2 separate regions of the Homo sapiens genome follow, and region 2 is linked to region 1. Evidence: promoter capture Hi-C in human tissues and cell types (Jung and others, 2019). All regions are on one chromosome and are shown on one strand. The core of a region is centred on a gene start or on the middle of the fragment in contact, and the rest is flanking DNA. Distances in the headings are between cores, read along the strand shown. Region 1 holds the start of ADCY1 (adenylate cyclase 1). Region 2 overlaps ADCY1 (adenylate cyclase 1).

Region 1 (7,167 bases), core at 1,915-4,414:
GGACCATCTCTCCTGGCTTCTGGTAGTTCCTTGGCTTGTGGCAGCATCAATCCAATTTTCACTTGGCGTTCTCCCTGTGTGTCTGTGTGTCCACATTTTTTATAAGACACCAGTCATATTGGAGGAGAGGCCCACACTACTCCAATATAGCCTCATCTTAACTAATTACATCGGCAATGACCTTATTTCCAGATAAGGCCACATTATGAGGCAGGGATTAGGACTTCAGCATATAAATGGTGGGCAGAGGGGACCACAATTCAACTTTTGACACCCACTAAGAGGACATCTTGCAATCACTTTGTCGTATCTCAGATAATTTCCCTGTTATGCCTGGTGCAAACTGCCCATCTGAAGGCCTTCTTCTTCCAACCTGGGAAATGTGGAGACAGTATTAACATATTCACAGCTCAAGTCCACACCACTGACAATAACAATTTTCAATTCTTACCCCTCCCAGGGTTTAACAACACGAGTTGGAGGACCCCCAGATTCCCACCAGAATCTGGTCCTCTCTGTGCCTTGGGGCCAGCTCCAGAGCATGTCTAGGTCTCTGCTTCTTCATCAACAAAATGAGGGTGATAAAATCTGCCTTCCAAGATGCCATGGAGCATCAATGAGAACTACAGACATGAGAATGACATGTAAACCACACCACACCATGTATCCCTGGATACTTTATTAGGACTTCATATTAGGACAAGCATGTGTGACAGTAAGCAAAGGGTACTGCACCTATGACTGAACCTCTTTCCGTCCAAAGCCTAATCTGAATCCTTATAACCTCGTTTGAAAGCAGTTGCTGCCAATCTTGCCAATGATTTTCTTTTTTTTCTTAAAGAGACAGACTCTTATTAAAAGAGAAGTCACCCAGGCTGGAGTGTAAGATCATGGTTCACTGCAGCCTCAAACTCCTGGGCTCAAGTAATCCTCCCACTTTAGCCTCCCTTAAAACTCATTTGCCGCTGGGACTAAAGATATGTACCATCACTTTCAGCTAATTTTTAAATTTTTGTTGAGATGAGGCTTCCTTATGTTGCTCAGGCTGCTCTCATGTTCCTGGACTCAAGTGATCCCCCTGCCTTGGCCTCCCAAAGTGCGGAGATTACAGGCATGAGCCACTGCACCTGTCTGAATGTCATTTTTTGAGTGAGGACAAAGTTGAGAGCCAAAACAGGTAAAAGAAGGTGCCATTTATTTGTAAACTTTGCACCCAGATTAACTTTATCATACTTTTTCATTTTCATGTAGTTTGATCCTTTTTGGATATTATTCAGCTTTTCTTTAATAAATTGTTAGGATCCAAAAATATACCACACCAGTTAACAAGAAAATCTTCACTTCAATCTTAACACTTGAAAAGAAAAATCTTGCAGACTTTGCTCCTATTTGGGGATAAGCAGGGGACTAGTGGATAGAAGAAGGTGCTTTCTCAAGTCAGTGACAGAGGTTGGGCCATGCCATCTTTTCAGAGCCAGTGCTGCCCTCTGAGGGCTTCAGCTCAAAGAGGGGAGGAAGGCAAATGAACAGAAAATGAGGCTACAGAGTGGTGGGTATGAATTTTCACGGAAGACTGGGACTGGGGAGAAAGCAACGAGCTGTGCCAGAAGGAGCCAGAAAGGTTTCAGAAAGGATGTTCTGTTGGGGATGCTATTCCAGGAGGAGGGACCAGCTGTCATCAAGTGTCTGCTGGGGGCCTTTGGTGTGAGCTACTGGGGACATGGGATGGGAAAGTGCCCCTACTCTAGACAAAGCCTAGAGGTGTCATCATCTGCAACTATTAAGTTGAAGCATATGAAAGAGCTGACATGTGACAACTTTGGCCCTTTTACAAAAACGGCAATTTTGTATGGTTCAACCTGATACCAATTCCAGATAAAATGGAAATGCCTCAAATTCTAACCTTTGTTCCGTATAACAACACGTGGAATCCCTGAGAGTTAATGGAATCCCTGGGGCATTTCTAAAATAGACCAATGCCTGGGCGAGATCCCTTAAATCCTGGTTTCTGGGAGTGGGGCCTTCTGCAGGGGGCCTAGCCTCCTGGTCTCCATTATTTCATGGGATCCCAGTTCCTGGTCTATCCATATTGAGGGGACGAGAAGCAGCCGGGATAACGGAGGAGGCAGGGGTTCTTGCAGTGGCTACTCCTCTCTAGGCCTCCTGGAGGGAGCTGATCATGAGAGATCCTCACTGTAAGGGGGATGCAGGCAGCCCAGGGGCCGTCTGAGCACCAAATGACATCATGTACTTGAAGCACCAGCACAAAGTTGTCTCCCTCATAGTGAATGAATGTAAGCAGTGGAATTCGACTCGCGGGTTTTAACCCCCATGGGCCAGCGTCCTTCCCTCCCAATTGTCCTGCTAGAAGAAAACGTTTCGCTCTCTCTCGGGTATCCAGCTAATCGTTAAGGCAAACAGCAGCGCCCCTTTTCCTTTCATCTCTTGCCCCATTTCTGCACCTACAGCCTCACACCTTCTTCCCGGGACACAGCACTGCCAGGAGCCCATCCTGGTTCAGTTCAGTACCCAGGAGGAATCCCTCGGGCCGACTCCCAGGACTTTGTTTCTTGGACTTCACCACCGCCGCCTCCCCAGCACAGCTCCCGCAGCCCGCACCCGCCCACAGGGTCTCCGCGACCCTAGAGCTTAGGGAAGAATTGCCGAGGGGCGGGGGGTCCCTCATGCGCATGGAAGGGACGTACGCCCCAGGCCTCCACCTTCCTCCTGACCCCGGGGATTCTTGGACGTCGATTCTCCGTCTCGTAGGGGCGAGGGCCCTGGGTTCGCAGTCAGACGCGGGCCCCTCTCAAATCTAGTGGCCTGGTTTTATTGAGTGGGGGAAGGCACATATTTTCCAAGATTAACTGCCCCGCAACAGGGAATTTCGCAGGATTTCAGTATTTTCGACTCCCCAGGTGACGCCAAGAGGGTGGGTTCCACTGTGCACGGTGGGGAAACTGAGGCTCGGAGGGGACAAGGAAGGTACTCGAGGTCACGCGGCTCCTCCGGCGGGCGGGAACGCAGGACGCGGAGTTGGGGCGCGGGCTGTGCGCGCCCAGGTTCGCGGCTCCCGGGGCTCGGCTGTCGCAGCGCGGTCGCCGCCGAGGACCACGGTCGGGGCGCGGGCGGGCTCCAGTGCGCAGGCGCGGCGGGCGGGAGGGGACGCGCTCCGGGCGCGCGCGCGGGGCAGCCGGCGCCCCAACTCCGCCCGCCCCGCGCCCCGCGCCCCGGCGCCTCGCCGCCCGCCGCCCGCCCGCCCCGGCGCCGCCGCCCGCGCCCCGGCGCCCCGGGCCGGCGAGGGGCGCGCCCGCGGCCGCGGCCGCTGCATGGCGCTGAGATGGCGGGGGCGCCGCGCGGCGGAGGCGGCGGCGGAGGCGGCGCGGGCGAGCCCGGGGGCGCCGAGCGGGCGGCCGGGACAAGCCGCCGGCGCGGGCTCCGGGCGTGCGACGAGGAGTTCGCTTGCCCAGAGCTGGAGGCGCTGTTCCGCGGCTACACGCTGCGGCTGGAGCAGGCGGCCACGCTGAAGGCGCTGGCCGTTCTCAGCCTGCTGGCGGGCGCGCTGGCGCTGGCCGAGCTGCTGGGCGCGCCGGGGCCCGCGCCCGGCCTGGCCAAGGGCTCACACCCGGTGCACTGCGTCCTCTTCCTGGCGCTGCTCGTGGTAACCAACGTCCGGTCCCTGCAGGTGCCCCAGCTGCAGCAGGTCGGCCAGCTGGCGCTGCTCTTCAGCCTCACCTTCGCGCTGCTCTGCTGTCCTTTCGCGCTGGGCGGCCCCGCCCGGGGTTCCGCCGGGGCCGCTGGGGGGCCAGCGACCGCCGAACAAGGGGTTTGGCAGCTCCTTTTGGTCACCTTCGTGTCCTATGCCTTGCTGCCCGTGCGCAGCCTGCTGGCCATAGGCTTTGGGCTCGTGGTGGCTGCGTCGCACTTGCTGGTCACAGCCACCTTGGTCCCCGCCAAGCGCCCACGTCTCTGGAGGACGGTAAGTGCAGCCGCGCACCCCTCATCTGGTCTCGGACACACTTGCTGGGACGATGCTGGGAATGCCCGGAGTCGGGCGCGCTTTTTCCTATGCGGCGGGTGGGGACACTGAGGCTCCGAGTGGGGGTGTGTTCAAGGTCACTCCTACGAGTTGGGGACGCAGTCGGGGCTGGCACCCTCCGGCCAGGGCTCTCTTCAGAGTTACAATCCACGAAGCGCCCCTGGCGTGAAGTGTGGAGAGGGGAGACAGGTGTGGAGAGAGAAAGGTTTGGCCAAGGTCAGGGAGCTGATGAGCGGCCAGACGGCGGCCAGAGGGGTCCGCCGGTCTTTTGCCGCACCCATCCCCACAGAGGGACTGAAAGTGGGCGAGGAGAGCAGACCCCCAGGGCAAGCTCCAAGGCCGGCTCTGCGCGCAGCGCTGGGCTCTTCCCCTGCGCACCTAGAGCGCGTGCTGGGCTCGCCTCCCAACCCTGCGGACCCGAGGGTGGTATATGGGTGGTGGGAAAGGACTTCGGCTCTTCCAGCCTTGCTGGCCACCCTTCTGTGGACATGCCTCCGGCCCAGAAAGAGTGGGGTTTGCCAAGGTCAAACACAGTCTAGTCCCTGCCGCTGCCACTCGGCGGTTGCCCTGACCCTGCCTTTTCTGCGCCCGAACTTTGTCACTGTCTTCCCAGTCGGGCGGGCGAGATGGTTGCAAGGACGGGGACGCTGTCTGCCTCCCGCGGACTCTTCCTGGGCCCTGGAGGAGCCTGCTCTTCCAACTGCCCGGAGGTGGACGTGGACCAGAGGTCTTTGCCCCACGGCGGGGCTTTGAGAGCTTCCCCTTGTGCCCATCTCCAACGGGCCGCAGGGATGGGGCTGGGGAGTTGGGGGGTGGGGAGATTTGGAAGACCCTGAGGAGGGTTTTGTTTCTGCCTCTAGCTGCAGTTTAGCAGGGGGATGGTATGACTCAAATGGAGTGGGGGAGCCCATCTCACGAAAGGAAGCAGTGGTGGGAGCAAACTGGGGAGAGGTAAGGGGTCGGAGGGGAAGCTGAATCCAGAGAGATTAGGGAAGAATAACTGGGGGGCGGTGGTAAGGAGTCCCACAGCCCGGCCCCGGGGGACCAGCACCCAAGGATCTAAGGAGGCATCCTTAGACTGTGATGCCAGGGGCAGCACACAGTCAGAGGAGCCATGAGATGCTCAACCTGGCACAGGGATAGACACATCACTGGACTTGTGTCTTAGGGTCAGAGAGAGACCACCATGTGCTCAACCCGTGGGCAGGGGCGGGAGGGAAGAAGGCAGGAGTACATGGAGAATTGTCAAAGAGGGCGTCGGAGGAAGAGAGGAAGAGAGGTAGAGGTGAAGGGCAGAGGCACAAAAGGATGGCTAAAGGCTGAGGAAAGGGGAAAGGAGCCAGAGGACTTCATGTCCTGGAGGGGAAGGAGGCTCTTCCACAGCCTCCTGTGGGCAGCACGTGGGCCTTGCCTTATCAGTCTCAGGGGGCATTCCTGTATCTCCTACTGCCTCCACCCCCCATCTGTCTGTGTTTAGCCTGGGCCTCATGCTGGCCCCCACAGCCAGACCCGCAACCGCAAGACGGCCTCCCCAATCTGACCAGATGCCAGGGCAGCTTGGGAATAGGGAGGGGCTGAGCTTGGTCCCTGGGCAGGCCCAGGGATCCCAACCACACTGCATTCTCTCTTATTACACCAGGGAGTCAGCTGGTGTAATAAAAGGCTGCGTTATTGTCTTTCTCTTTTAAAATAAAGACATTTCCTATATAGCCTCTAGTCATTTCTTTTAGAGAATTAAAGATTAAAAAAGAGAGAGGGGAGAGTCTATAAAGGAGTTTCTGGACACAGGGAACTCTGCCTCTCCCCCTGGGATAAGATGAGCCCCTGTGACTGTCACTGTAGTGGGGAAGGAAGCCCATCCTGGGAGCAAGGATTCTTAGGGAGCAGACATCTGGGTTTCCCTGCTAGCTGTGACTCCCTGGGCAATCCAAAGCCTTCCCTCACTGAGCCTCAGGTTTCTCACCTGTGTAAAGGGCAGAATGGCCCCCTGCAGGGTTGTAGTGAAGGTAAACACTTCCTATTGGAAAAGCACATATTGGCCTTTTTAGAATGTTCTATTCAAGTCCACGTGTCTATACAGGTGGTAGTGATACTGACAAACACATGGGGATCAATGCAGGGAGACTTACAGTGGGGGGAGCAGGGCAGATGATTCCCAGGGATTCTGCTTTCCAATTAGAGAATTCCAGGAGCCTGTGAAATCTGTCCATAATGAGCTCTGCAGTTTGGTGCTTGAGATGGTGAAGAAGACAGCACACGCATTTACACAGCATTGATGTTTCTGCTGCTCTTCACTGCTTTACCATCCACTTTCTATTCAGACCTGTGCCACTGTGCAGTGCAGTCACTCGTTGACAGCACCTTGTCCTCCATACTGAGTTTTGGGCAGGTAGTAGCCATGCTGGGTGTGGAGTGGATGTCCCAAAGAGGATGAAAAATGGAGTGAATGAACGAAGGAATCTTTGCAGGGGATTTCCCTCACTGCATACATAGCAGGATGCTGCTTCAGAGTCTGAGATCTCCACAGTGATCTCCTGGTGCTGAGCCCAGTGAGTTCCAGAGTCGGGTTAACTCCATGGGGCAAAGGAGCTCCCTCCCTTGAATCCCACCCCTTTCTCTGAGACCCAAATGCCTTCTTATCAAGGATAGCCCTAAGGAGGCCTGGAAAAAGCCTGCGCTTTCTGAGGCCTGGGTTCAAGTCCCTGCTCTGAGCTATGGAGAAAGTTCTTGTGTTTTCTTTCCAGAGCCTTTGCCCCTCCAAAGCAAGGCTCTCAGGGTTCCCTGCAGCATTCATTGTTCCAGTTCTGGTGCACAGGGCTCTGGGAATGCAGCCTGGGTGCTTTGGGGCATCTGGTTCCTCTCCTGTAAAGCCCAAGCTGCCCCAGGACTCTGGGGGGCAGAGGAGAGAACGCTGAAAGCTAGTGTGCATGACTATTAGCACAGGTGGAATTGAGTAGCTAGGGCTTAGCTCCTCCCCCGGAGAAGTGCTTGATGCTGATGTCCCTGAGCAGAGAGGTCTTTAGGGGAAACAGCCTTGTTCCTACCTGGGCCGGCACTGAGGGGGAGGTATCCATAAATATGTGCTAAGTGGCCAGAACTGAGTTCCTTTCCTCTCCCAGCCCCTTGCT
Region 2 (7,167 bases), core at 1,323-3,822, 56 kb after region 1:
AAGCTCCCCAAGACCCCCGGCGCCCACTTCGCATATGCACAGCCATGGCTGAGCATGAGGCTGCCCCTGGCAGGCTCCTGGTGGGGAGGTTCTTTGCTATTTCTCAGCACATGATTGAGAAGCAATTGTCATGTCACCTGGGACACCTTAAGGTGGATTCTTAGGCCAGATCCAGAACCACTCATCAGAGTCTTAGGGATAAGGAATCTGCATTTTGCTAACTGCCCTGGATTTTGCAGGCCAGAGGCTGAGAGCCACTCTCTAAAGCTTGTGCTCGTATACAGGCCACTAGGCCTCAGAGGTGGGTCTCTTGGCATTCTCCACTCTGACCCCATGGGTTTTCCTCACACCCCAACCTTCCAGCCAAGTGAGCCTCTCGCTTTCCCTGCCTGAAGACCTCGGTTTCCGCCATCCATCTCCATGCTCCTGCCCATGCTCTAGCCCCTCCAGACCCCTGCACAGTTTGTAATGGACAGAATGGAAACACATCTTTCTTCACACAGCAGGGAAAGTGTTTCCCTGTCCTGGGATCCTTGCAGAGTGACCTGCCCAGACTCTATCAGGGGTGGAGGGTGAGCGGTTTCTGGAGGAAGGGGAACATGGGGAGTATATGAGGAGGCACCCCTGCCCTTCCCCAAGGCAGGACATCCCATGGGCTGTGTTTTGGTGTCTTTAGGAAAATTATTAAGAAGAGTTCTCGAATATGTGTGGATGACTTTTTGAATACAAAGGGAATCTGTCAATTTTCCTAGGAAAGGTTTACATAATACTCTGTCTTCTGCAACCTGGCATGCTTCTTTCTTCCAACAAACTGCACCACGTGTGGCCTAACTAGTGCCTGCCTTCCGATAATGCGTGTGAGTTCTGTGGTTCAGTACCTCTGGGATATGTTACACCTCACCGGGATTTCTGCAGCAGCTCCTCATGGGGTGAGCATGAGGAGCTCTTCTTCCTGTTTCAAACCTTTCCTCAGCTTCCCACTGTCCTAGGTGGCACAGAGGGCTCCTTACTTTGAAGGTATGATTGACTGATAATGAGCTGCATATGTGTACGGTTCTGTTCATTTGGGCATATGTACACGTGTGAAGCCATCACCACAGTCAAGATGCTGAGCATATCTTCCAGTGTTTCCTAGACCCTTCGCAATCCCTGTCTCCTCCCACTTCTCATTTTACTCTCTCCCTGTGTCCAGGCAACTACTAATTTGCTTTCTATCACTACAAATAAGTTGGAATTTTCTAGAACCTTATATATATGGAACAAAGCAATATGTACTCTACATTGTCTGGCTTTTTTTCACTGAGTGTAATTGTTTTGAGATTCAACCAACTTGTTGCATGTGTCAGTACTTCATTCCTTTTCATTGCTTAGAATCATCCCATTTTGTAGCTGTACTGAAGCTTGTCTGTTTATTCACTTTTTGATGGACATTTGGTTATTTCTAGGTGTTGGTTATTACAAATAAAGCTGCTATGAACATTCATGTACAAGTCTATGTATGGGTATTCAGTTCTCTTGGGTAAATACCTAGAAGTAGAATGGCTAAAAAACATGGCAGATGTATGCTTAACTTTTTTTTTTTTTTTTTTTTGAGACGGAGTCTCGCTCTGTCGCCCAGGCCGGACTGCGGACTGCAGTGGCGCAATCTCGGCTCACTGCAAGCTCCGCTTCCCGGGTTCACGCCATTCTCCTGCCTTAGCCTCCCTAGTAGCTGGGACTACAGGCGCCCGCCACTGCGCCCGGCTAATTTTTTTGTATTTTTAGTAGAGACGGGGTTTCACCTTGTTAGCCAGGATGGTCTTGATCTCCTGACCTCATGATCCACCCGCCTCGGCCTCCCAAAGTGCTGGGATTACAGGCGTGAGCCACCGCGCCCGGCCGTATGCTTAACTTTTTATGAAACAGACACAATGTTTTCAGAGTTATTGTAGCATTTCACATTCCCATCAGCAGTGTGTGAGTTCCAGTTGCTCCGCATCCTCATCAGCACTTGATGTGGTCAGTCTTTTTAATTTTAGTTTTTTTCTAATAGGCATGTGGTGCTATTTTATTGTGGTTTTAATTTCCTATTTTTTAATAGCTAATGTGGTTGAGCATCTTTTCATTGCTTATTGGCCACTCATTTATCTTTTTGGTGAAGTGTCTGTTGAAACCTTTTGACCACTTCTTTTTATTTGGGTTGACTTTTTTCTTTTTGTGAAGTTTTGAGCATTCTTTGTATGTTCTACATATAAGTCCTCCATCAAATATATGATCCCTGAGACTTTGGCTTGTTTGTTTATTCTCTTAACAGTGTTGTTTGAAGAGCAGAAAGTTTTAGTGTTTATGAAGTCCAGTTTATCAGTTTTTTTAATGCATTGTAACTTTTGTGTTGTATTTAAAAAGTCTTTGCCCAAAGTGCTATAACTGTGTGTTGGTTTCCCAAGGCTACTGTGGTGAAGTACCACAAACTTGGTGGCTTGAAACAACAGAAACTTCTTTGAGAGCAGTTTTGGAGGCCCGGATTCTGAAATCAGTATTGCTTGGCCAAAATCCAGATATTTGCAGAACGATACTCCATCCAGAAGGTTCCAAGGGAGAATTTGTCCCTTAACTCTTACATCTTCTGTTGGCTGTTGGAATTCCTTGGCTTGTGGGCCAGTCTCCCTCTGTCTTCATATTGCTGTGTGTTCCTCTTCATTCTTCTGTTTTCTCTCACTCTCTGCCTTTTCCCCCTCCCTCCCTCTCTCTTTCCCTTTTTCTGTATGTGTGTAAAATTTCCTCCTGCCTCATTTTTATAAGGATACAGGTCATTGTATTCAGGGCTTATCTGGATAATCCAAGATGGTTTCCCTATTTTAAGATCCTTAATTTATTACATTAGAAAGATCTTTGTTTTTGTTTGCTTTGTTTTGTGCTTTGCCATGTAAGTTTGCATTTACAGATTCCAGAAATTTGACTGTGGGTATCTCTGGGGGTCTCGGGAGGCATGGAATTTCAGCCTACCACACACTGAGAGCAGCCATCCAAAATCTCTCTGGATTTCAGTCTCCTTATTCAAAAATAAGACTAAATATGACTATTTTGGTTGGTTAGTGAGAAGTAAAATAATGGAAAGTAAAATAATAAAAGGTCTAAAGCATCTAGCACAGTGCCTAGGACAAGGTTTACACTCAATATATGGTAATTATCATTGTTACCAGGAAAGCTGTGATCAGTGGGGTCAGTGTTGTTAAAACTATGCAGGTATTTGAAAATCCAACTTGAAAATCATTGAGACCCTCTAACATAAAGATATGATAAACTCATTTTAAAAATCCCATCAAGTTCTTAGATAACCAGATAACATTTGATGCTAGAAATTGTCCATTTATCAGCTTTGTCTGTTTTAGAGAATTGTCAAATAACGTTGTCCTTATTAGCATTATAATGCAACCGGATTCCATTTTAACTCTGCAAATGTCCTCTCATTCTGCTCTGTGCAGGAAACTGCTAATCACTGGTACGGGCATATGTAAGGAGAATACAATCTGTGACTTAGTCTGCCTCACAATCCAGCAGGGGAACAAAAGTTTTCCTTAAATACTTGTTTTACAGAGCACATACTATATCACAAGTAAATTGAGTACTATTTCACTTATTCTCAATTTTATAAGCTCTGCATCCAAACTTGAAAACAAACATCATCCACAAAAAGTCAAAGCATTAGATGCAATTATCAGATTAATGTTTAATAAGGTGAAAACACAACATAGTGTATTCATAATTTTTGTGCGCATGTGAATTCTGTAGCTTTACAAATACACATTGTCCTAAGGAAAACTCACATGAGAAAGATACACAAATAATCACAATCATTTGTTTCATTTGCCAGCTATCTAAGCCAAGCCTGCATATCTCTGCATCTCAGAGTAAGGTTGCAAAGTAAATAAATATATACCTACAAAAAATAAAGTAAAAATCTTTGCCTAACCAAAGTCAGATTTTCTCCTGTGTTTTCTTCTAGGGGTTTTATAGTTTGAGGTTTTACATTTAAGTTTATAATACATTTGGAGTTAATTTTTGTGTATGTTTCGAGGTATGGGTCAAAGCTGGATTTTTTTTTGTTGTTATCTTGATATCTAATTGTCCCAGAATCATTTACTGAAAAGACTATCATTTCTCTACTGAATTCCCTTTCCAAAATGTTAGAAAAATCACTTGTCCATATGTAGTTGAATGTATTTCTGGATTTTAAAAAATTCTGTTCCATTAACCTATGTGTTTATCTTGACATCAAAAACCACACACCCTGGCCCTGTAGTTTTATAATGTATAGTCTGGAATCAGGTCCTGTGCTTTATCCAAGTTTATTGTTCTTTTTCAAAGTGATTTTTGGCTATTCTAGGTGCTTTGCTTTTCCATGTGAATTTTAGAATCAATTTGTCAGTTTCTGTAACAAAGGCTGGTGGAATTTTGTTTGGGATTTGTGTTGAATCTATGTTACCAATCTTCGGAGGATTAACATTTAAAAAATAGTCTTCTGATTCACGAACACTGTATGTTTATTTAGATTTATTTAGATATTCTTTAATTTTTTCTCAGAAAAAATGTATAGAAAAAATTCTATACATTTCTCAGAAATGTATAGTTTTCAGTGTATATGTATTTCTTTTTTCTTTTTTGACACAGAGTCTCTTTCTGTTACTCAGGCTGGAGTGTAGTGGTGTGATCACAGGTCATTGCAGCCTCCACCTCCTGGGCTCAAGCAATCCTTCTGCTTCAGCCTCCTGAGTAGCTGGGACGACAGGCACATGCCACCATGCCCAGCTAATTTTTAAATTTTTTTTTTTTGTAGAGACAGGGTCTCACCATGTTGCCCAGGCTGGTCTCAAACTCCTGAGCTCAAGAGATACTCTCGCCTTGGCCTCGCAAAGTTGCAGGGATTACAGGCATGAACCACCATGCTCGGCCAATGTATATGTGTTTTATATATTTTATCAGATTTATTCCTAAGTAGCTCCTAGCTGTTTCTTTTTTAGACGGAGTCTTGCTCTGTTGCTTAGACTGGAGTGCAGTGGTGTGATCTTGGCTCACTGCAATCTCTGCCTCCCAGGTTCAAGTGATTCTCCTACCTCAGCCTCTGGAGTAACTGAGATTACAGGCACACACCACCATGCCTGGCTAATTTTTGTATTTTTGGTAGAGACGAGGTTTCACCATGTTGTCCAGGCTGGTCTTGAACTCCTGGCCTCAAGTGATCCACCTGCCTCGGTCTTCCAAAGTCCTGGTATTACAGGCGTAAGTCACAGCACCCGGCCAATGCTGTTGATTTTTAACTTTTAATTTCTGATTGTTCATTACTGGTATAGCAAAATACAGTTGACCCTTGAACATCACGGATTTGAACTGTGTGGATCCACTTATACATGGATTTTTTTCAATAAATATATTGGAAAATACTTTGGAGATTTGTGATAGTTTGGAAAAACTCACAGATGAACTGCGTAGCCTAGAAATATTGAAAACATTAAGAAAAGTTTGAGTATGCCATGAATACATAAACGATTATACATGTATTTAGGTTGGTGCAAAAGTAATTGTGGTTTTTGCCTTTAATAGCAAGGCCCGGCACGGTGGCTCATGCCTGTAATCCCAGCACTTTGGGAGGCCAAGGCGGGCGGATCACGAGATCAAGAGATCGAGACCATTCTGGCCAACGTGGTGAAACCCCGTCTCTACTAAAAGTACAAAAATTAGCTGGGTGTGGTGGCGGGCGCCCGTAGTCCCAGCTACTTGGGAGACTGAGGCAGGAGAATCGCTTGAACCCGGGAGGCAGAGGTTGCAGTGAGCCGAGATCGTGCCACTGCACTCCAGCCTGGTGACAGAGTGAGACATCATCGCAAAAAAAAAAAAAAAAAAAAGTAATAGCAAAAACCGTAATTACTTAAATTACTTATAGCAAAAACCACAATTACTTTTGCATCAACCTAAATAGATACTAGCCTATTTATATGTTAATCAACTGTTAATGTTATTGGTAAGGTTTCTGCCCAATGGTAGGCTATTGGTAGCTATGTTTTTGGGGGTAGTCAAAAGTTATACATGGATTTTCAACTGTGTGGGGGGTTGTCACTCCTAACCTGTGTTTTGTTCAAGGGCCAACTGTACAATTGAGTTTTTGTATTGATAAACTGTACTGAAACTCCGCTGAGCTCACTCATTTCTGGTAGGTTTCCGTATACATACGTTTTCTACATAAATCATCATGTTGTTTGCAAATGAAGACAGATTTTCTTCTGCCTTTCCCGCTTGGGTGCCTTTTATTTGTGTTTTCTTGCCTTCTTTTACTGGCTAGAACCACCAGTACAATGTTGAATAGAAGTGTCAAGAGCAGGCATTCTTGTCTTGTTCCCAACAGTAGGGGAAGGCATTCTGTCTTGCATCATTAAATATATTACCAGTTGGATTTTTTGTGGATACTTTTTATCAAGTTGAGCAAGTTTCCTTTTATTTCTAGTTTGCTGAGTTTTTTTTTTTTTTTTGATTCAGAAATGGATGTTGAATTTTGTCTAATTCTTTTGCATCTATTGGAAGGATCATATGGTTTTTCTTTTTAGTCTGCTCATATAATGAATTACCTTGATTGATGGTAGGATATTTAAACATCCTTTTGTTCCTTGGACAAGCCCTACTTGGACATAAAGATGGTCCCCGACTTATGATAGTTTGACATATGCTGTTTTGACTTTAAGATGATGGGAAAATGATACACATTCAATACAAAGTGCCTCCCTCTCGTGATGCTGGGAGGCAGCAGCAAACCACAGCTCCTGATCAGTCATACAGTTTTGACTTTCAATATTTTCAACTTACCATACATTTATGGGTTGTAACCCCATCAGAAGTTGAGGAGGATTTGTATTGCATTATCCTTATTTATTGTTGGCTTTGCTTTTCTAAAATTTTGTTTAGAAAATTTTTCATTTATGTTACTTAAAGATATTAGTCTGTGGCTTTCTTATTCTGTACATGGTGTCAAGATAATGCTTAACTCATAGACGAGTTTGGGAACATTTCCTTTTGTTGAATTTTTTGGAATAGTTTTTGTAGAAATGGTATTCTTTCTTTCTTAAATGTGTAGTAGAATTTACCAGTGAATCCATCTGGACCTGATATTTTCTTTGTGGAAAAGTTTTTAACTACAAA

Evidence for each region. The method cuts DNA at HindIII sites, captures the fragments that hold promoters and counts their contacts. A contact is called where the count stands out against the background at its distance.
Region 2: a contact is called between a fragment that was not itself captured here and the fragment with the promoter of ADCY1 in region 1, in 2 of the 25 tissues and cell types used here (heart right ventricle and stomach).

The regions. Positions count from the first base shown.
Region 1 is chr7:45,571,204-45,578,370 of GRCh38, forward strand. ADCY1 (adenylate cyclase 1) reads left to right here and starts at 3,165. Exons shown (of 20, transcript NM_021116.4): 1 at 3,165-3,979. The coding sequence starts at 3,341. RefSeq lists an enhancer at 2,179-2,739 and a silencer at 3,551-3,650. The HindIII fragment of the contact is 21,542 bases long and covers 1-7,167 here.
Region 2 is chr7:45,627,939-45,635,105 of GRCh38, forward strand. The region is part of intron 4 of ADCY1 (adenylate cyclase 1); the gene reads left to right. Among named protein-coding and RNA genes, the nearest start is that of ADCY1, 57 kb to the left of the region's middle. The HindIII fragment of the contact is 3,478 bases long and covers 834-4,311 here.